Linked DNA regions of Homo sapiens: regions 2, 3, 4, 5 and 6 are each linked to region 1. Evidence: promoter capture Hi-C in 16 types of primary human blood cells and fetal thymus (Javierre and others, 2016). All regions are on one chromosome and are shown on one strand. Each heading gives the region's core, a stretch centred on a gene start or on the middle of the fragment in contact. The rest is flanking DNA. Distances are from core to core; before and after follow the strand shown.

Region 1 (3,454 bases), core at 692-3,191:
TTCCTTTCAGGTGCTCTTCACTCCTAAACTGGAGAGATAAGCAAGCTATGTCTGTTCCTTCATGCGTTCTTTCTCCTGGCCCTACTACCCTTCTCTGGCTTGTCTTTTTTTCTTTTCTTTTCTTTTTTCCTTTTCTTTTCTTTTTTCTTTTTCTTTTCTTTTCTTTTTCTTTCTTTCTTTTTTTTTTTTTTTTGACACAGGCTTTTCTGACTCCAGCCTGGATAACAGGCTGTCGTCCAGGCTGGAGTGCAGTGGCACGATCTTGGCTCACTGCAACCTCCGCCTCCTGGGTTCAAGCAATTCTCCTGCCTCAGCCTCCGGAGTAGCTGGGATTACAGGCACTCGCCATAATGCCCAGCTAATTTTTGTATTTTTGTAGAGATGCAGTTTCACCATGTTGGCCAGGCTGGTCTCAAATTCCTGACCTCAACTGATCCACCTGCCGTGGCCTCTCAAAGTGCTGGGATTACAGGCATGAGCCATCTTGCCTGGCCCTCTGGCTTGTCTTTCAAAGAAAAAACACAAAAGTGCTGGGATTACCTGGTGAAAAAAAGACAAACTGCTTGGATTACAGGTGTGAGCTACCACACCTGGCCCTCTGGCTTGTCTTTCAAAGAAAAAAAAAGCCTCCATTACAGCTTGCCAGCTGCAAGGGAGAAATTAAGGGGGAAAAAATGCTAACTTCCTCAACTCTTGCACCAATTACCAAAAAACCCCAGAATTTATTGTTCTAGTTTATCTTAATGTTCTGTTTTTAGAAATCCAAGCATTCTAAATCCCAGACATTTGACTTTAAAGAGTCTCTGTACCAGCAGAAGTTATATTCAACATTTTGTGTGTGTGCACACAGTTTTTATCAAATTATTTTAGTCTGTGATTCCCTCACCACACTGAATGGAGGAGTATTATGTTCTTCCATGAAGTTAGAATTTAGAGCAACATCTTGCTAAATAGAAGCTATATCAATGTAAACTGTCAAATGCCAAGTATTTGTTGGTATATTTAGAAAGAGAAAGAAATACAAAACAATTAACATTAAAGACTTTAATTAATATATGGTTTATAGTTAAGTCCAGATATGGTCCAATCTTCTATACCTTCTTCATATTGGAGACTGTATACTATAAATGAATAGTCATAATCTTGAACTTAAATCATTGCAAAATTATGCATTTACATTTACATTATCAAATAAAAATTATATTATGCCAATATAGTTTAGTGTTAATTTGAATTTCAATTATTAGAAAACGGGTAACCCATGAATTGCCTATTTATAGGTTTTCTGCATTGCCTTCTCAAGTATAATATTCTGCCTAATCACCAGGAGATTCCTTATAAGCAGGAAGAACAAAACTCAGGACTGCTTTGTCTATTCTCCGAGTCTTTAGAGTTGGTTGGTTGTAGCTGATGCACGCTAAATGTGAGGCTTGGGGTCTCCTGGTCAGCACACTGGGGTCCCATTGTTACCTGCACCTCCGAGATTACCAAGGTCAGTCTCTTCCTCCCTCTCTACCCCTCACTCTCCTCTCTCCCTCCCTCCCTTCCTTCCTCCGTTCTTTCCTTCCTTCCTTCTCTCTCTCTCTCACACACACACACCCTCCACACACACGCTTCATGAATACACTGTCCCTCCACTAACGCACGACTCGCTCCTCACAGCACAACTTGGATCAGTCTCAGACCCCTAAAGGTCTCTCGCATGGGGTCGCCATTCTTCCTACTTTGTGCTCAAGGCGCAGGATCTGGAGTTCTCGGTTTCCAAGCAAGACTGGTCGAGTCTAGGTCGGATTGGCTGCGATAGAACGAGGGGCAGGGGTTGTACCGAATCACAAAGCTAGGATTTTCATCTCTCTCTCTCGTTCTCTCTTAGTCTCCGCCCTCGAATCCTGGCAACAGGCGCGGTGAGTTTTTCTGAGAGGAACCCGGCCTGGGGTTGCTATGGAGATAGGACGCAGCAACTCACAGAGCAACCAGGACCCAGAAATCGCTTAAGAGACCGCGGCAAAGTAACTTAACTGAGTTGCCTTCTTCCATATTTTCACGCCCCTTTCATCCAGAACATTTTTTTTCTTGAACTGCTTCCATGGAGGACTCAACCTCCCCGAAGCAAGAAAAAGAAAACCAAGAAGAACTAGGGGAAACAAGGCGGCCATGGGAAGGAAAGACAGCAGCTTCTCCCCAATATTCTGAGCCTGAGTCGTCTGAGCCCTTGGAGGCGAAGCAGGGGCCAGAAACTGGACGCCAGTCCCGAAGCAGCCGTCCTTGGAGCCCGCAGTCTAGAGCCAAGACGCCTCTGGGTGGCCCCGCGGGACCAGAAACATCATCACCTGCTCCTGTCTCTCCGCGGGAGCCCTCTTCCTCTCCTTCTCCCCTGGCTCCGGCCAGACAAGACCTCGCGGCACCACCTCAGTCGGACAGGACCACGAGTGTGATTCCTGAAGCTGGGACACCTTATCCTGATCCTTTGGAACAATCATCTGATAAAAGAGAATCAACTCCTCATCACACAAGCCAGTCAGAAGGAAACACCTTTCAACAGTCTCAGCAACCCAAACCCCACCTGTGTGGACGAAGGGACGTGAGCTATAACAACGCTAAACAGAAAGAGCTGAGATTTGACGTTTTTCAGGAGGAAGACTCAAACAGTGACTATGATTTACAGCAGCCGGCGCCTGGGGGCTCTGAAGTGGCCCCCAGCATGCTTGAGATCACCATTCAGAATGCTAAGGCTTACCTGCTGAAGACTAGCAGCAATTCGGGCTTTAATCTGTAAGTCTCAGAGGGAAAAAAGATAAATGTTTGGCAAAGCAAGAGGGTGTGTGAGTATCTCTGTGTGAGAGTGTGTTTCTGTGGGTGAATCAAAATATATTTGAAAGATTGTGTTAGTAAAAGAGAGTTAATGACATAACTCTGGATCACATGACTCAAAACAGGTCATTAATGGAGATTCTTGTACCTTCTTTTTCTTAACCTTTTTTTTTTTTTGTCCTTTTCCTCCAGCTTCTTTAAAGACCCTAGGCACACAACAAAATAAAACTTAGGAATTATGGAATCTCGGGCTTGAAAAAGACCATAAAGACCATAAAGTCCAAGCATCTCTCCAGGATGCTTGTGAAAAATAATTGTCTACCAGTGAAAGCAATCACGTCTCTCATCTGTAGATGCTATTGCTTGCATGGCTTTTGAGTTCCCAACCCAGGCAGTGCTAGGGTGACCACCATCTCAGTTTGGCTGAGCGCTGAAAGTTCTTTATCCTAAGAAACCCCTTAGTCCTCGCAAACTCGGAGAATTGGTCACTATACAAGCTACCTGGAACACATGCCATTTTATCCAAGTCTCTTAAAATGTGATGATCAATAGTCTACATATGTTCTGCCCATCCCATTATAGCTTTAATTTTAGAACTTATGACATGTATAGATTTCTATAGATTTTTGCTTCCAGAGTTACA
Region 2 (2,500 bases), core at 1-2,500, 500 kb before region 1:
ATGTCAAGACAATAAATAGTAACTGCAGAATATTTGTTCAAACTGCATATTTCTCTGTCACCTGCTTCTTTCCCTCCCAGGAGAAAATTACAACTTTGGGGTGATTTTGTCATTTTTCTATCCCTAGTCATCAGCCCTTGACCCTGACTCAGATTGCATGTGGTTTTGTGGGTACCTCTTCACAGTCAACAATGAGTGGTTGGGTCTGTGGGAATAAAGATGCATCACCAATATAGGGACATATCCATGACAACTGTAAAAGCCACCCATCACTTTATTGTCCTACTTTTTTATTAACTTTGAACAATGAAAAGCCTTGAAAGAATGGTTGAGAACAGCAAATTGCTGCTTTCAAATTAATTCAGCCTAAAAATCTATTGATGTTATTTTATTGCGTCGTAAATAAGGAGTAGGTAAAACATTTTGTGCTTTAATAAGTGAGGCACAGCTTAAAAGTTTTAAACAGCAATATAAAAATACAGTACAGTGCATAAATAAATAATATATCTCCACTTCTAGTCGAATTTTGAAACCCTCAGTGTAAATTATAACTTCACTTGAATGGGAGGCACAAGGTACATGTGCTAATGTTCTGTAAATCCAGAAAATCATATCACATAAGATTCAATAAGGAATTAAAGAAATCAAATTAATCACACTTGTGTTAACTAAATAAGAATAGGTCAGATACCTGTTTCCAAGTTATGCTGGGTATATAAAAAGCTTCTCTGCAATCATAGAAAAGTTTGAAAAGGTTCATTGATGAAAGCACCTTGCATTTCAGATGAACTTCAATATTTTGGGGCTTTTTTATATAAGAGCTTTAACAAGTATATATGCACCTGTATATTTGAATAGATATTGATGAAAGGGGCCATACAGGCCTCAGAGTAGTGCACCATCAGAAATATTTTAGGGGATACAGTGTCTTTTAAATTTGAATATTCAAGTATTTAAGTTCTACAAAGTTATATGATACCTCCTGGATGTTTCCTAGAAGTTCTCATATTCATAGTTAGAAACAGGCTTTTTTAAAAAGGAAATGCCGAGTTTCTCAAATCAAATTTCACATAACTTAGAGCTCTATTTCTGTTTTTTTTTTTAATTTTTTTTTTGTTGTTTGTTTTTTGTTGTTTGTTTTTAACATAGCAGGACTTCTTTGGTGATATTTTTTAATATTGGAGAAAACCTTAAAGAGCCTTAAGATTGCTAACTAGAAATTCAAGAGAGGCTTCACATACGTTTTTACGTTGCTGCTCACTTTTCAGGGGGAAGGTTTGTTGGTCTGATAGCTCAAATCTGTATTTCAGAAAATAAAAATTACATTCTTTTCAGCCTACCTCCATATGCATTTTGTAGGGTGGGGTAGAGTTAGAGAATGCTTTTTCTAGCACAAGATTTAGATTAGCTCTGTGTGTACTCACATTGGAGCCACTAGGAATCCTGAGAAAGAGGAGTGGACATACTCAGAGGAGTATAGGCCATTTGACTCGGCATTGGGAAGCTGGAGCCACACCTGGTCATTTTCTGTGAGATCGATGATGGCACTCCCTGAAGCCTGATCCAGGTAGCCTTTGGTGTATTCATCATAGGTGTACATTACAGGGGTGCCATTCTTATACAGGCCTACCCAAACATGAGTCCCTTTCACATGCACGTGGTATGAAAAATAGTATATTCCTGGTATCTGACAAGTAAAGATTCCAGTCCTTGGGTCATAATGCTGTTGCCTGTTATACAAAATTTTATCAAATGGTATGGGAGTTCCTATTGCTGGGTAAGCTTTGGAGAGAATAACAGTAAAAGCAGACACAGGCATTCCTGTTACCCCCTGGTTGGCACTAACAAGAGGGGTCCCAGAAAGACTGGGCCTTTGGCCTGCCTTTATAAAACCCTCAGGCATGACTGCTTGACCTGGTGGGCCTGGAGGCCCAGGGGGCCCTGGAAGACCAGGCTCTCCAGAGTGGCCTCTTGGACCTGGAGGCCCTGGTGGCCCGGTGGGTCCATTGAGGCCCTTAGTTGCTATGCCAGCTGGGCCAGGAGGACCGGGACTTCCTGGATCCCCTTTAGACCCAGGGAATCCTGGAATGCCTGGTGGCCCAATAGGGCCTCTAGTACCTGGTATTCCAGGGGCACCTCTTGGGCCAGCCTCTCCATTGTGTCCGGGCATTCCCTTTGCTCCTGCTGGGCCCACAGGGCCTGGGAGACCAGGAGGTCCTCCAACTCCAGGATCACCTTTTGGACCTGGTAACCCTGGGTTACCCTTAGGACCATCGAGACCTGGTTTTCCTGGGTACCCTGGTTTTCCATCTGACCCAGGGGAACCCCTTTCACCCTTAGCCCCAGGGTATCCTGCAGGCCCAGCTGGCCCTGTCTCACCTTTAGGGCCTGGGAGACCATGGCTACCCGGGATGCCTTTTGGTCCTTGGGGTCCCATATTCCCAGGGGGTCCAGTCAGACCTGGCTTCCCAGGAAGACCTGCTGGCCCTTGTTCCCCTTT
Region 3 (3,454 bases), core at 392-2,891, 410 kb before region 1:
AGTTGAATACAACAAATTGCTTTTTGGTAATTACTTCATTCTCAGCCTTGAATGTAGAAATGTAAAAGGGATGAGAGGTAGTGACTGAGAAAGATTCAAAAAGATGCACTACCTAATTAGTAATCAGGGAAATGCAAGGTAAAACAATGAGATGTCCACTTTCACTTAGTATATCAGCAAAAATTAAGATCTGACAGTATGACCTGATGAGAGTGTGGGGTAAGTGTACACACATATATGCTGCTAACAATGTTAAAAACTATTGTCCCCAACAATTCTGAAAGCAAACTCAGTGTAAATATTAAGATTAGAAACGCAGATATGCAATGAGCCAGCCGTTTAACATTTATAAGCCCTAAAGAAGTACTCATATGTATACATGGACTCAGATACAATGTTGTTTACTCCAGAATTTATAATGAAAAAAATCACCAAAGTACTGTTGTATTCATATGCTGGATTGCAATGTTGTGGTTAAAAAGAATGAAGCGTTTCTAGAATGTAAGGTCTATGAGAGAAAAAACTTTGTCCATGTTTTCAACAAGTAGAACAATGAATAGTGTGTAGTAGGTGCTCAGTAATTATTTGTTATAATTACATGGCTAGATTTAAGTACGTGGCTAGATTTTGAAGTCATTTTTTTGGGTGAGGAAAGCAAATTGCACAAAATGTGTACTAGAAAATACATGTATATGTGTGTGTAAGTCCATAACACCTTATTGGAAAGATACACACCAAAATGTGAACTACATATGTGTGTATGCAAGTCCGTAGAAATTTATCTGAAAAGTATACAGTGCAGAAGTGTCCAAGCAAATAATACATTCATGGGTTCTTAGTTTCTGTTTCTGGTTAGGCCGGTAAAACCCCTTCCTCATCCCTCTTTTCTGCTTATCATTACAGACAGAAACTAAAAACCATGTCTTCAGGCTGCTAAAAGCCTAAAACAAAACAAAATAGAACAACAACAAAATAAGCTGGGCTGGACAAGCTTGGTGTGACACTAAAATGACAACAATGATACTAGGGACCAGAAACTGAGAGTACTATTTAGAGAAGACTTCAGACTTTTTTTTTATGTTTCAAAATTTAGAACATATATTTGGAAATTTGGAAGTGTTCACATATCTTACTTGAGTAATTACGAGATAATTTTAAAATAACATTTAACCTTAGAAAGATAATTTCCCTGTTATCTGGTAGGTTGGAACTTAACTGAGTCAGCAGCTTCTCCCTCTGGAGCCCCACAGTCTCTACACAGATATACAGAGCATCTGATCTTGCTAGACCTAGTCTTCCCAAAGGAAATTCCTTAAATATGTGGAATAAATTGGGGGGGAAAAAAGGCTGTTCAGATATTTTATACATTTCTTTAAGAATAAACCAGCTGTTTGTGTAGTTTCCGTCTTTATTCTGATTTTGTATTAAAAGGGTACATTTTAAATTTTTCACTAATTGTATTTACATCTTTACAACAAGGCTGTAATATGTCTTAATAAAGGGGATAAAACAATAAGATTAGTAGATATGACAGTAAGGAATGTGTAATGAAAAAATCAAAGAGACCAAGATTTTCATTCCATCCTGCTGTTTTCCTCATTATGTCATGATGATAGGCAAGTCAGCCTCTCTAGGCCTCATTTTCATATCTGCACAATGAGATTAGGTTTTGTGGTCCCCAAGGTTCTAATAGCTACCCCAAGTTTCTCTGCTCAGTCCTTTGAGAATGATCTAATAGACCATTGGACCATCTAGCCCAGTGTTTTTTCCTGGAAGTAACAAAAAGTAGAACCACCCTGCCTCCTGCTCAGTAGGACTTTTAGGGTTTTTTCATAGCATATGTTTCAAAATATGTTTTGAAGGTAAGTAGCATTTTGATAAGGGAAATCTTGCATTTTGGGCCCATGCAGGGCAATTCCATGATGCAGTGTGGCCCATAGCATTTCGTGGTTAATCAACTGCCTGTACTTAGGCCAGAGGAACTTGTTAAAGTAAAAATAGCTCTAACACAAAATTTTTACTATGTGTAAAGCATTGTGCTAAATGTTTCACATATATCATTGCATATAATTCACACAATTACCTAATGGGGTGAGTGTTATAACTGTGATCATTTTATAGATAAGCCAACAGTCTCTCAATGACTAAAGCACTTACCCAAGGAAATTGCACAACTAAGACTTGACTCAAGACTGTCTGATTTGGGTCCATACCACCCAGGAACACTGGAGACCATATCCTGTAATATACTTTTATCTGTGTGTCTACTCTGGTACAGAACTTTGTGCTCTGAAGCTTTTCAGTAGAAATGGAATAGCAACTCTCCTTACATCAACAGCAACAGCTGTTTCTTAATGAAGTCACCTGCAAATTATGAATTTCTTTCTGCCATCCCTCCTACCCTGCTCCATAATGATTTAATTTGCTGGCATGAGACATTTAGATAAAGTTCCTTTTGATGTTTTAAATGGATTTTATATCTGGAGGGCAAAACATTTTCTTTGCCATAGTTTTTAGATAAACTGTTAATTGGTCGAAGTCTAGTGCAGTTTCCTCTTTACTCACATTTTTCTTCATTGAATACACATAGGGCATTTAGTGTTTATTGCTAACATTTGCCAAATAATTGTGTGCAAAATATTTGTCTCATTTAAATTGGATTTTAAATGTTTTCTTCTTGTTTATTGAGTAATTCTAGAATTTAAAGTTCTCTGGATTTATATTGACATCTTTCCTTTTAAAAATAAATAGTCTGATCACTTATGTCATATGCTTTCTTAACAAACTTTTTCCTAGGTCAAAAGAATGTAATTTTTTATTAGAAAATAGTTTCATTATTACAATATTGTTTTATTCAGATCCTCTGGGAGCTGATATCTCTGCATTAATAACTATACCTATTCCCTGCCTACAGCAGATTTCTTCCACTTTATTCTGAAAGATTGAAGGTATGCACTCAATAAATGGATCATATGTCTTAAGAAATCATGGGAAAAAATATTTCTGTACCTGCATTTCCTTTTAAGATCAATAGAGTCTATAGCTATAGAAGTAAATGTTTTCTTTTTTATGGTGGACTTAATGTATTCTAAAGAGAGAAAGCAAAAAAAATCCTTTACAATCTTTAATTAGATAGATGATAGATACATATGTCCATATTATATAGGTAAAGACTAAGTTTATAACCTTATTTTTCAGATTTTTTTTCATGCTTACCGGGTAAAGAGTTACTTAATTTTTGGTTTAAAAAGTCTTTCATCTTTATGTTTGAAAAGTATATATGATTGTATTTTATTATGATTATATGTTAATTCTAAAAAATACCCAAAATATATAAACTTGTTGCATTAGATTGGAAGCAGGCAGTGTGAAAAAGGCAAAAATAAGACCAAAGAAGAAAAAAGAGGAATTTAGATGGTTAAAAGCCCTGCTTAGAGTAGAATATTCTGGGAAC
Region 4 (3,454 bases), core at 288-2,787, 390 kb before region 1:
TAAGCGGTGGAAAGGGGTTTAAATTTTATTCCACAAGTAACCTGAAGCTGTTCCATTGTTTGAGGCAGAAGAGTGATATAAGAGACTACTTTGGCTGCTGGGTGGGGAATGGTTTGAGTGTGGGGAAGGATGGGAAGAAGAAGACCTGGCAACTGCAGCGTCCCTAGTAAGATAACTGTCGTGGTTTGGTCCAGAGCGACAGTACTGGAAATGGAGAGAGGTAGATACATTTAAATACATTATGGAGTTGGAAAACACAGAGGGCTCGGTGATACTTAAAGAAACAGCAGACAAAAAGAAAGGAGTAATAAAAAATAACTTCCAGGTGGTTGATTTTTCTTTTTCCTCAAATGAGCAAGTGAGTAGATGGTGGTACCATTTACAGACTTGGGGAAAAATACAGAGGATAAAGTTGTGTGGAGTAGGGGTTATATCTGTTAAGAACTCATTTTTCAACATGTTAATTTTGAGATGCCTATGAGTTATGTAACTGTCACTATCAATTAGGAAATTGTATAAATATGCCTGGAGTCCAAGGGAACAAGTCTAGGCTCAAGATATGTATTGGGAGTAATCAGCTCATAGATAGGTATTTGAAGCCAGGGGATTATATGAAACCAAATATTGAGAGAATGTAGATAGGCAAAAGGCCTGGACCAAGCCCTGACATTCTCTAATATTAAAGATAGAGAAGAAAGAGTGCAGTGTGGCAGCAGATAGATTATAGTAGGGAAAACAGTAGAATACGTGTTCAGAAGCCAGAGGAAAGAGGAAAGGGTAGCCAGCTAGTCCAAATGCTACAGAAAAAGTCCACTGAAATGAGGAAGGAGAAATCTTCCCTGGGGTGGACAAGATGGAGATCACTAGTGCCTCAGTGAACAGTTGCCATAGAGTGGTGGGATAGAAACTAAATTGCAGTATCTTGAGTAGTTCATTGGAGGTATGGAACCAGGGTATATGTGCAGCTCTTTCTAGAATTTTAGCTCTAAAGGCAGTCAAAGAATTGAGGTTTTAGCTAGAAGACAGTGTAGGATTAAGGGCATATTTTATTTTTTTAAGATCGAAGATACTGGAATATGTATATGTGCTGATGAGAATGATCTGCTGCAGTGGTTTTCAACGGTGGCAGTTTTGCCCTTCAGTGCAAATTTGGCAATGTCTGGAGACGTTTTTGGTTGTCGCAACTTTGGAGGGGGGTGGAGGCTGGGTGTGCTGCTAAGCAGCCTACAGCACACAGGACAGCACCCCCCAACGACGAAGAATTATCTAGCCCCAAATCTCAGTAGTGCCAAGGCTAAGAAACCCTAGTCTAGTACAAAGAAATAGGTTGATGTTGTTTTTATATATTGGTTTAAAGTCTTATATAATAAAATCCTTGATATTAAGAAATAATCTGTTATCAAGAATTCTAATAATATTCTTATAATTAAACCAGAAAAAAATTTAAATGTTTTTCCCTACTTTACAAACTTACATTTAAATATATAAGTAAGTACCCAATAAATATTTGTTTTTATTTTTATTTTTGTGGGGTTTGCATATTTTGTTCCAAGAAAATCTATACCCCTTTTATACCCATAGTAGTATTTATGCCATTCCATAAGATTTTTATTAAAATTTCACACAAAGATACAATTAATGGAAAACTGCACGTTAAAAATATACCAAGTTTTTTTTAACATGTTGGAAATTATAAATGCATTAAATATGCTGACAATTTACAGCATTTTATGTAGTTTTTCTCTATTTAATTGAGAGTATCCTGAGAAAAAGGGTGGAGTTTTTAAAAAACGATTACTTTAGAAGTACCTATCTTAAGACTTCTGTGCAGTATTTTCTGTTAGTTGTATAGTACAATTGGATTTGAGGGCTGACATAATAATGATGTTTATCCAAACTATATATTTTTAAATATTATACTCATCAAAAGACTTGAAAGTCTTTTTGATTGAATTTATGGTATGGAAATATTAGGAATCTAAACTTTAAAAATAAGCACATCCTGATAATAAATATACCATTTTAAAAAATTGTTTTACATTTTGGGTTGTATAAACACTTAGTTTTTTAATTTCTACTTTCTCTAATTTGTATTTCATTTATTTTTTAATTGACAAGTAAAAATTATATATTTATGTTGTACAACATGGTATTTTGATATATATATAGATTGTAGAATGGCTAAATGATACTATTTAAATAGGTATTACCTCACATTATCATTTTTTGTGTGTGTGGTAAGAACACTTAAAATCTATTCTCTTAGTAAATTTCAAATATACAATATATTATTTTTAACTCTGCATTTTGTACAATATATTTCTTGGATTTATGGATTTATTCCTCCTACCTGAAATTTTGTGTCCTTTGACCAACATCTCCTAATACCCCTACCCCTAGCCTCACATAACCACCATTTTACTTTCTGATTCTATGAGTTTGGCTTTTTTACATTCCAAATGTAAGTGAGATCATATGGTATTTGTCTTTCTGTGCCTGGCTTATTTTGCTTAACATTGTGTCCTCCAGGTTCATCCATGTTGTCACAAATGACAGGATTTCTTTCTTGTTAAGGTCAAATAGTATTCCATTATGTATATATACCATATTTTCTTTATCCTTTAATCTGCTAATGGACATTTCGGTTGATTTCATATCTTTTGTGAATAATGCTGTAATGAACATGGGAGTGCAGATAGCTCAACATACCAATTTCATACATTTTGCATATATACTCAGTATTGGAGTTGCTGGATCATATGGTAGTTCTGTTTTTAATTATTTTGAAGAACCTCCACACTTTTTTCCGTAATGGCTAAACTAATTTACAATCCCACCAAGAATGTACAAGGATTCCCTTTTCTCCACATGCTCTTTAACACTTATCTTTTGTCTTTTTGATAACAGCCATTCTAATAGGTATGAGGTGATATCTCATTATGGTTTTAATTTGTATTTCCCCAATGCTTAGTGATGTTGAGCACTTTTTCGTATAACTGCTAGACATTTGTATATCTTTTTGAGAAATGTCTATTCAGGTCCTTTGCTCATTTTTTTAATTGGGTTATTTGTTTCCTTACTATTGAGATGAGTTCCTTTTATAGTTTGGATATTAACCCCTTATCAGATGTATGGTTTGCAAATATTTTCTACCATTCTACAGATTGTTTTCACTTTGTTGACTGTTTTCTTTGTGGTTGCGTAGCTTTTTAGTATTATGTAATCTCATTTATCTATTTTTGCTTTTGTTGTCTGTGCATTTCGGGATATAGCCAGAAAGTCTGATAAAAATTTCATTTTAACTAGCAGTCTACTGTGTTTCATTCTCTTCTGTGGTTTTAGAGATGAAAAATCTGGATTGATGAAGCAGGACCAAAAGTCCTACCAGTCTCTGTAATGAAGACTGTAAAGTGCTTAGCAATCTCAGCGTATATAGGATTTCATGCTTTTTGTA
Region 5 (3,454 bases), core at 476-2,975, 340 kb before region 1:
TCAATCCTATTTACAGGACAATATGTCCTAAGCAGACTTCACTTCAATGACCAGAGGATGACAGACCTCAGTTTGTAAACTAAGAGAATCTTGAGAAAGGTCAATTTTGGCCTGGAATTGAAAGAGAAATAAGTTTTTAAAAAGGAATTTCATTATTAGAATTATAAATAAAATCATGCAACAGTAAGAACTCACAAATAAGATCTTGTAAGTAGAGTCAGCAATTTTTACCACCAAGGAAGAGAAGCCAAAAGACTGGAGATGGGCAAATGAAGTTCTATTTTTTAAATTATCAATAATATTTTAAAATCTATTTATTGAGGTATAATTTACTTACACTAAAATGCATAAATCTTAAATATATACTTGGACAAGTTTTGAAAAGTGGATACACCTGTGTTATCACCCAACTCAAGATATGGAGCACTATTACCCCTGCAAATGTCCTCAAGCTTTACCGTTACTCCCCTCAACCTTGAGGCTACCATTCCTGGGATTTCTATCACCATAAAAAAGTTTTCTATGCTAGTGAATTTCATATACATGGAATCATATAATATATATTCCTTTGACATCTTTCACTTAACATGTCTCTGAGATTCATCCATGTTGATGATCAATAGGTTGTTCCTCTTTATTGTTGAGTGGTGTTCCATTGTATGAATATACCATAATTTGTTCATTCACTCACTTGTTGGTGAACATTTGGGCTGTTTCTAGTTTGGGGCTGTTATAAATAAAACTGCTATGACCATTCCTGTGCTACATGTAAATTATACTTTATTAAAGAAAACAACAAATACCAAGTATCTATTAAAACATCTTTGGACACTTTAAAAGAGCAAATAGTGATCAACAGAAGTAAAGCATATCACTAAGAAATCATTTCCTTTTTTGGCAAGGGAATTTCAAAGACAGACGACACCTGCTGTTATGAATTTTAAAGACCTCTTTTGTTGAATTCAGGTTAATTCCATTCTGCAAGACCACAGGGGGGAAACTATGAAATAGATATACTGAAACTCTACGATATACCAGGCTCTTTGCAATAGCTGGATGTTTATAAGGTGGCAAATTTGAATCAATTTGACAAAACTGGGAAGGGAGTATGTATTCCCTAACTTAAGGAGTTCAAGAAAAGGTAAGCCATGATTCTCAAACTCAGCTGCACTTTAGGCTGTAATTTAATTGGTTCAGGGTAGAGTCTTGGCATCAGTATTTTTTGAAAGCTCAAAGCTATATATAATGATCAGCCAGGTTTGAGAACCATGAAGCTAGATGACTATTTGTCTGAATGTAAATTAAATGAGAAATTAAAATTGAGAGGAAGACAAATGGAAATTTTAATTGATTGCATATTATATGCTAGACATGATGCTTGCTGTCTAACCTCTATATTATAACTATATTAATACTTGAAATCTCTTAGCACAGTGTCAGGCGCAAAGTAAGCTCTCAAATGTTTCTGTTGTTATCTTCTCTGTAACCTTATAATGCAGTCTCCAAATGCATCCTAAAACATTAGCTTATACTGCAAGTTTTATCATCCCTACATTATGGATAAGGAAACCAAGATTCAGAGTAGTTTATTTTGGGAAATGCAATACATGGTAATTGTAAAACCGGGATTTAATCCTAATTTAAAGCTAGTATGCCTTCTCTGCCCATCAGGTCATATCTAAGACATATAGGTGTTCACAAAAATTAGTAACTTACTTAAATGACCCTTTCCTTTTTAATTGAACCATTTCCTTTTACCTGTTCTCAAAGAAATTACCTTAAATACAAATCCTAAAAAAAGTGAAGCCAAAAAGTAGACATCCACATTTTTCCTAATGTGGCTTGATAGAAACTCTTCTATAGGTCTTGACAACCTCTGAGGTCAGAGAGAATGGATTAAGATGGCCCTTCAGAGCTCAAAGCACTTAACATGGAGAAAGTACTGCTTCCAAGTAAAACACCTCCCATAATAATAAATGCATAGAGAGCATACCTGTCACTTCTATATAGTCTAGGACTTTAATTATATAATAATGTTGAAGGAAAGGAAGTCAGTCCTGAGGGGGATGGTCAACTCCTCTCAGCCAGGCTGGTCCTCTCTGAGTTTGCTTGTGTGCAGTAGATGTTTTGAATGTGTGTATTTGCTGCAGAAAAAAAGGAAACATTCAAGGAACGGTACCCCCCTCAATGAGCCTGAGTTCCTCAAGGGCAAAGACAACCTTTACTATCCCATTCAATCCTTACTTATGCTAGTATTCAATAAACAACTACTGCAAGATTACAATTACAGACCACTAATTTTCAAAAAGTATGTTTTTTTGTTTTTTTTTTTTTTTGAGACGAAGTCTCTCTTGTCCCCAGGCTGGAGTGCCATGGCTCAATCTTGGCTCACTGCAGCCTCCACCTCTTGGGTTCAAGCGATTCTCCTGCCTCAGCCTCCCGAGTAGCTGGAATTACAGGCGCCTGCCACCACACCCAGCTAATTTTTGTAATTTTAGTAGAGACGGGGTTTCACCATGTTGGCCAGGCTGGTCTCGAACTCCTGACCTCAGGTGATCCAGCCGCCTCGGCCTCCCAAAGTGCTGGGATTTCAGGCGTGAGCCACCCTGCCCGGCTGCTTTTTCAAGTAGTACGCGTTCATTGAACTGACTTAATGCAGAGCTAGACTCAGATATTTTCCTTTTCTGTTGCTAGCCAACTGTTAAAATACGACTGAAAATATTTTCTGAACATCATGTACATTTGTAAACTAAAAATAGAGCATTTGGCCGGGCACAGTGGCTCACGCCTGTAATCCCAGCATTTTGGGAGGCCGAGGCAGGCACATCGCCTGAGGTCGGGAGTTTGAGACCAGCGTGACCAACATGGAGAAACCCCATCTCTCTACCAAAAACACAAAATTAGCCGGGCGTGGTGGCGCATGCCTATAATCCCAGCTACTGGGGAGGCTGAGGCAGGAGAATCGCTTGAACCCAGGAGGCAGAGGTTGCGGTGAGCGGAAGCTTGCCATGAGCCGAGATGGTGCCATTGCACTCCAGCCTGAGCAACAAGAGCAAAACTCTGTCTCAAAAAAAAAAAAAAGAGCATTTTACTTTAGAAAATATGCATATATTGGTCTTAAAAGTCACTAAAAATTAAACCAATATAACTGTGTCAATTTGGCATCAAAATCTACCCTGCCTATATCAAGAAAGTGTTGCACAGTACATTTTGCAAAATATTCAGTGCATCTTAAGTACTCAAGAACAGTTCATTAAAGAAATTTTACTCACCTTCTTTTTACCCATTGGCCTTGAATTTAAGCAAGATAACCCTTATCTTAGTCACAAGAAGCTTCAGGAGGAGAAAGTATTAACATGTTTAATTTTTACAGATATTTTATATGCTTTCAGATATTCCTCAGGAAGTCGAGACATGCTGTCCTATGTAATTTTAGATTTACTAGTAGCCACAT
Region 6 (3,454 bases), core at 556-3,055, 330 kb before region 1:
TAAAAAAAATAAAAATAATAAAAAGTAAAGAAAACCAGCCCTCTTGTTTTAAAACAAAATTCATCAAGGTCATTTACTACTTTCCACATACAAATTGATTCAATATGAAAAGTTCATATTATGGTATCCAGCTTAATACTTTGGTTGTCATAACACTTCATCCATTAGCTGAGAACTCTGCCTTGTGAGTTCTTTGGCTCTGAGACTATATTATAACTTCACTGGGTTTGTAAGCAAGCCATTCTATGCACATCTGTTTTAAAAATGTGACAGGTTGATTTGAAAAATACCATATTTCATTCATCATCATAAATAGAAATATTTATATTTATTGAATATTTACTACATAATAGATACTGTGTTAAATGCTTTTCATATATTATTTAATTGCCTCACCCCTCCATTACATAGGTAGTATTCACCCTGTTGTGAAGATTAAGAAATCCCAGAGATATCAGGTGACTTGCCTAAAGTTACATGACTAATAAGTAATGGAGTATGGATATAAACCCAGTTTATTGGCTTCAAAGCTCTTTGTACTATGCCATGTTGCTTTTCTGATTTCTTGAAATCTTTGACAGTAACCGGGGAACTCAAGGGTTACTGCCACCTATTTTCTAATAACTTCGTTTTCTTGGATCTGTATCATTAGTGCCTAGCACCTAGAAGATTCTTAGGCAGTGTTGGCTGCATTGATTGAATGATTCCACACTGATGGCTAGCTTAAACAGCCATGGAAACTTTAATTATAATATATTAATCTAAACAGGACATATGGTTTTTAGGAGTTAAGTGCCCTCAGGGGAAGCATTTACTAAATGTGGGGCACATTTTAAAAGTAATATCTCCTGCTACTGCTGATATTTCTAAATTAACAGTATTTCTAGATTCTCAGACTTGGGGTTCAGAGATTTCACTTGCTGATTAATTAATTCAAGGATATAAGAGCTCTAGCAAATAAATATTTTATTAATTTGTACTGTTCTACACTCAGGAGCAATTATTGAAAATCAAGGTTTGTTATCAGGAAATACATGAAGTCTTATTTGGAAATAATTCCTTAAAACTCATCCTGAGAAGAGACAATCTGCATCCTTCCCACTTAGTATATCATCTACCCATTTGTGGTCTCTCATAATTGGAAATATTTCCCTAATTCCAAAAGCAGAAAGGAATCCTCTTAACTGCTAACTTCTCTCCCAAAGGGAGAAACTTTTTCCAGCCAACCTCAGTGAAATTGTTGATTGAATGCTGATCCTAGAACTGCATTATGAATGCAAAAAAGTAAACAAAGCACCCATTCTAAGTTTGCTCAATTTTCTGGCCACCACTGTGCTCTGCAATGTCATCTGTAGCACAGAAGATTGGAGGCGTAGACTTGAGACCAGACCACTTCGTCTGTTCTTTCCAAACTCTCTAAATTCAAAACATTTGTTGAGGTTTATGCAGGACACAAGAGTTGTGGGATGGCATACAAAAATCTGAAAGTCATGGACTTTGTTCATTAGGGACCACAGTGTTGTGGAGAAGATAGACACAGAAACACATAATTATAATACCAGATGAAACAAACAATTATAATACCAGATGATACCAATAATTATAATACTAGGAGAGTGTTGTTCCAGCAAGAGAGATGTGGACAAAGGGCTTTGGGTGCACAGAATAGGAAATTTGTATTCCTATATTGATAAGAGAGCTTGGTAAGAATTCAGAGGTGATAATTTTGAGATGAGTCCTAATAAGAAAAATAAAATTATAATAAGAGAGAGGGGGTGAAAATTCCAGGTTGACTAAAATACCCTGAACAAAGACTCAAATACAAGTAGAAGTCCAGCCAGCTTGAGGAAATGACTGAAAGATAGGGAGATTAGTTGGGGGTGATGGTTAGGTAAAATGGAATCTGATAGTTAAAGGCTTTTTATTATACATTATTATATGTTTATGATATATTAAATATAATTATATATATACATATTTGTTAATCCTATGGGTATTAGAGGATATTGGAGGCTTTTAAACAGGGGATTGACATGGACAGTGTCAGAAAATAATATTAATTGCCATATGGAAAATGATGTGAAGGTTATATGATTAAAGGCTGGGATATCAGTTGTGAAGTATTATAAAAATGCAGGCAAGGGTAGATGAGGATATCTTTAGGAATGTAGTAACTGACAACAGAATATGTCAGATAAATTGTAGAACCAATTGAAAAACTAGATATGAAAGTAGACAAGAAGTTAAGGAAGACTGATTTGTTTAGTTTGGGTAACAAGGATGGGTGGAAATGTGATTGAGTTATGGAATACAGGAAGAAGATCGGGTTGTAGTGGGAGGAGAGATCAACAGTTCAGCTACAGACAAGGAGAGTTTCATGTGACTCTAGGGAGATGTTGGGTATTTGTAGATCAGATAGATTTGGGTATTTGTAGAGCAGGAGAAGAGTGGGGTTTACAGTTAGACTTGGAAATCTTGAGTGTTTAGGTGATAGTTGACATCATCAGAGTGGACGAGAACACCAGGAAGACAAGTAGAGGAAGAAGAAAGGAAGGCCAAAAATAGAGCTCTGAGGAACACTGACGTGAAAGAAACAGATGAGGTGGCACAAGTAGAGGAAACTGAGAAATAGCCATTAGAGGTAGGGAAAGAACCAGAAGAGTGTTGTTTCAGTATGCAAGGGAAGAATGGACTTCAGGAAGCTAAGGTTCAAGGGATGCAGCCATATTGAGTGAGATGAAGACTGGGAAGAAAAGTTTCCGAATTGGGCGGCAGCTATACAGCATGGGTGTCTTTAGTGAGAGCAATTTCAGAAAAGTAGCAAGACAGAAAAATTGCAGAGTTGAAAAAATGAATGATAAATGAACATATAGATAGTGTGTGAGGCCAGTTCTTTCATAATTGTCAGTATAGAAAAGGGGAAAGACTGGATGACAAGTTCAAGGAGATGCAGGGTTGAGGGAAGAATGTTTGTAGGGAGCAGCATTGTTGGGAGCAGAGTAAGGATCTGATTATTACACTGAAGTGTTGAGGAAGCAAACAAACAAAAAAAAAGAAAACAAACTGAATGTCAGTAAGTAGAAGAAAGGTTGGATAAATTATGGCATGTTTATACAACTGAATATTACGTAACCTTTAAAAGGAATAAATTGGATCCAAAGTAGTGACCTGGAAAAGCATCCATGTTAATTAGAAAGATGTAAAAGAACATTGCAGACCAATAAGTATATGCTAATTATATTTTAATAAATATTAGCTGACACCCTTGTATCTATATAAATGCAAGAAATATTAAGAAAGGATGTGTACCCAGTTGCCAACAGTGGTGATCTCTGGGGGATGAGGATGGGAAGGGGACTTTAGCTTATTGCTTCTTAGAATTTTAAAGAGAGGTGGTGACATTAGGAATGACTTTTACACATTGGATTTAAAATATTTTTCAGACAAACATTAA

Evidence for each region. Contacts are between HindIII fragments. The CHiCAGO score rates a contact against its expected background, and 5 or more counts as called.
Region 2: a contact is called between a fragment that was not itself captured here and the fragment with the promoter of RSPH4A in region 1, in 1 of 17 cell types (monocytes). The highest score is 8.4, in monocytes.
Region 3: a contact is called between a fragment that was not itself captured here and the fragment with the promoter of RSPH4A in region 1, in 2 of 17 cell types (naive B cells and M0 macrophages). The highest score is 7.1, in naive B cells.
Region 4: a contact is called between a fragment that was not itself captured here and the fragment with the promoter of RSPH4A in region 1, in 6 of 17 cell types (total B cells, M0 macrophages, monocytes and 3 more). The highest score is 9.0, in total B cells.
Region 5: a fragment that was not itself captured here is called in contact with the fragment with the promoter of RSPH4A in region 1 in 1 of 17 cell types (total B cells); the score reaches 8.1 in total B cells.
Region 6: a contact is called between a fragment that was not itself captured here and the fragment with the promoter of RSPH4A in region 1, in 2 of 17 cell types (naive B cells and fetal thymus). The highest score is 6.8, in naive B cells.

Annotation. Positions count from the first base shown.
Region 1 is chr6:116,614,538-116,617,991 of GRCh38, forward strand. RSPH4A (radial spoke head component 4A) reads left to right here and starts at 1,942. Exons shown (of 6, transcript NM_001010892.3): 1 at 1,942-2,772. The coding sequence starts at 2,087. RefSeq lists enhancers at 1,992-2,091, 2,142-2,261. The HindIII fragment of the contact is 5,584 bases long and covers 1-3,454 here.
Region 2 is chr6:116,118,653-116,121,152 of GRCh38, forward strand. All of the region lies in intron 6 of NT5DC1 (5'-nucleotidase domain containing 1), which reads left to right. COL10A1 (collagen type X alpha 1 chain) reads right to left here. Exons shown (of 3, transcript NM_000493.4): 3 at 257-2,500. The coding sequence ends at 1,421. Among named protein-coding and RNA genes, the nearest start is that of COL10A1, 6.2 kb to the right of the region's middle. The HindIII fragment of the contact is 1,059 bases long and covers 722-1,780 here.
Region 3 is chr6:116,204,268-116,207,721 of GRCh38, forward strand. All of the region lies in intron 6 of NT5DC1 (5'-nucleotidase domain containing 1), which reads left to right. It also overlaps a transcript of COL10A1 not described here. Among named protein-coding and RNA genes, the nearest start is that of TSPYL4, 48 kb to the right of the region's middle. The HindIII fragment of the contact is 1,304 bases long and covers 990-2,293 here.
Region 4 is chr6:116,224,744-116,228,197 of GRCh38, forward strand. All of the region lies in intron 8 of NT5DC1 (5'-nucleotidase domain containing 1), which reads left to right. Among named protein-coding and RNA genes, the nearest start is that of TSPYL4, 28 kb to the right of the region's middle. The HindIII fragment of the contact is 5,275 bases long and covers 1-3,454 here.
Region 5 is chr6:116,271,514-116,274,967 of GRCh38, forward strand. It overlaps TSPYL1 (TSPY like 1), which reads right to left. Exons shown (of 1, transcript NM_003309.4): 1 at 3,345-3,454. It also overlaps a transcript of DSE not described here. Among named protein-coding and RNA genes, the nearest start is that of TSPYL1, 6.7 kb to the right of the region's middle. RefSeq lists an enhancer at 1-114. The HindIII fragment of the contact is 2,550 bases long and covers 451-3,000 here.
Region 6 is chr6:116,289,628-116,293,081 of GRCh38, forward strand. It overlaps a transcript of DSE not described here. Among named protein-coding and RNA genes, the nearest start is that of TSPYL1, 11 kb to the left of the region's middle. The HindIII fragment of the contact is 6,300 bases long and covers 1-3,454 here.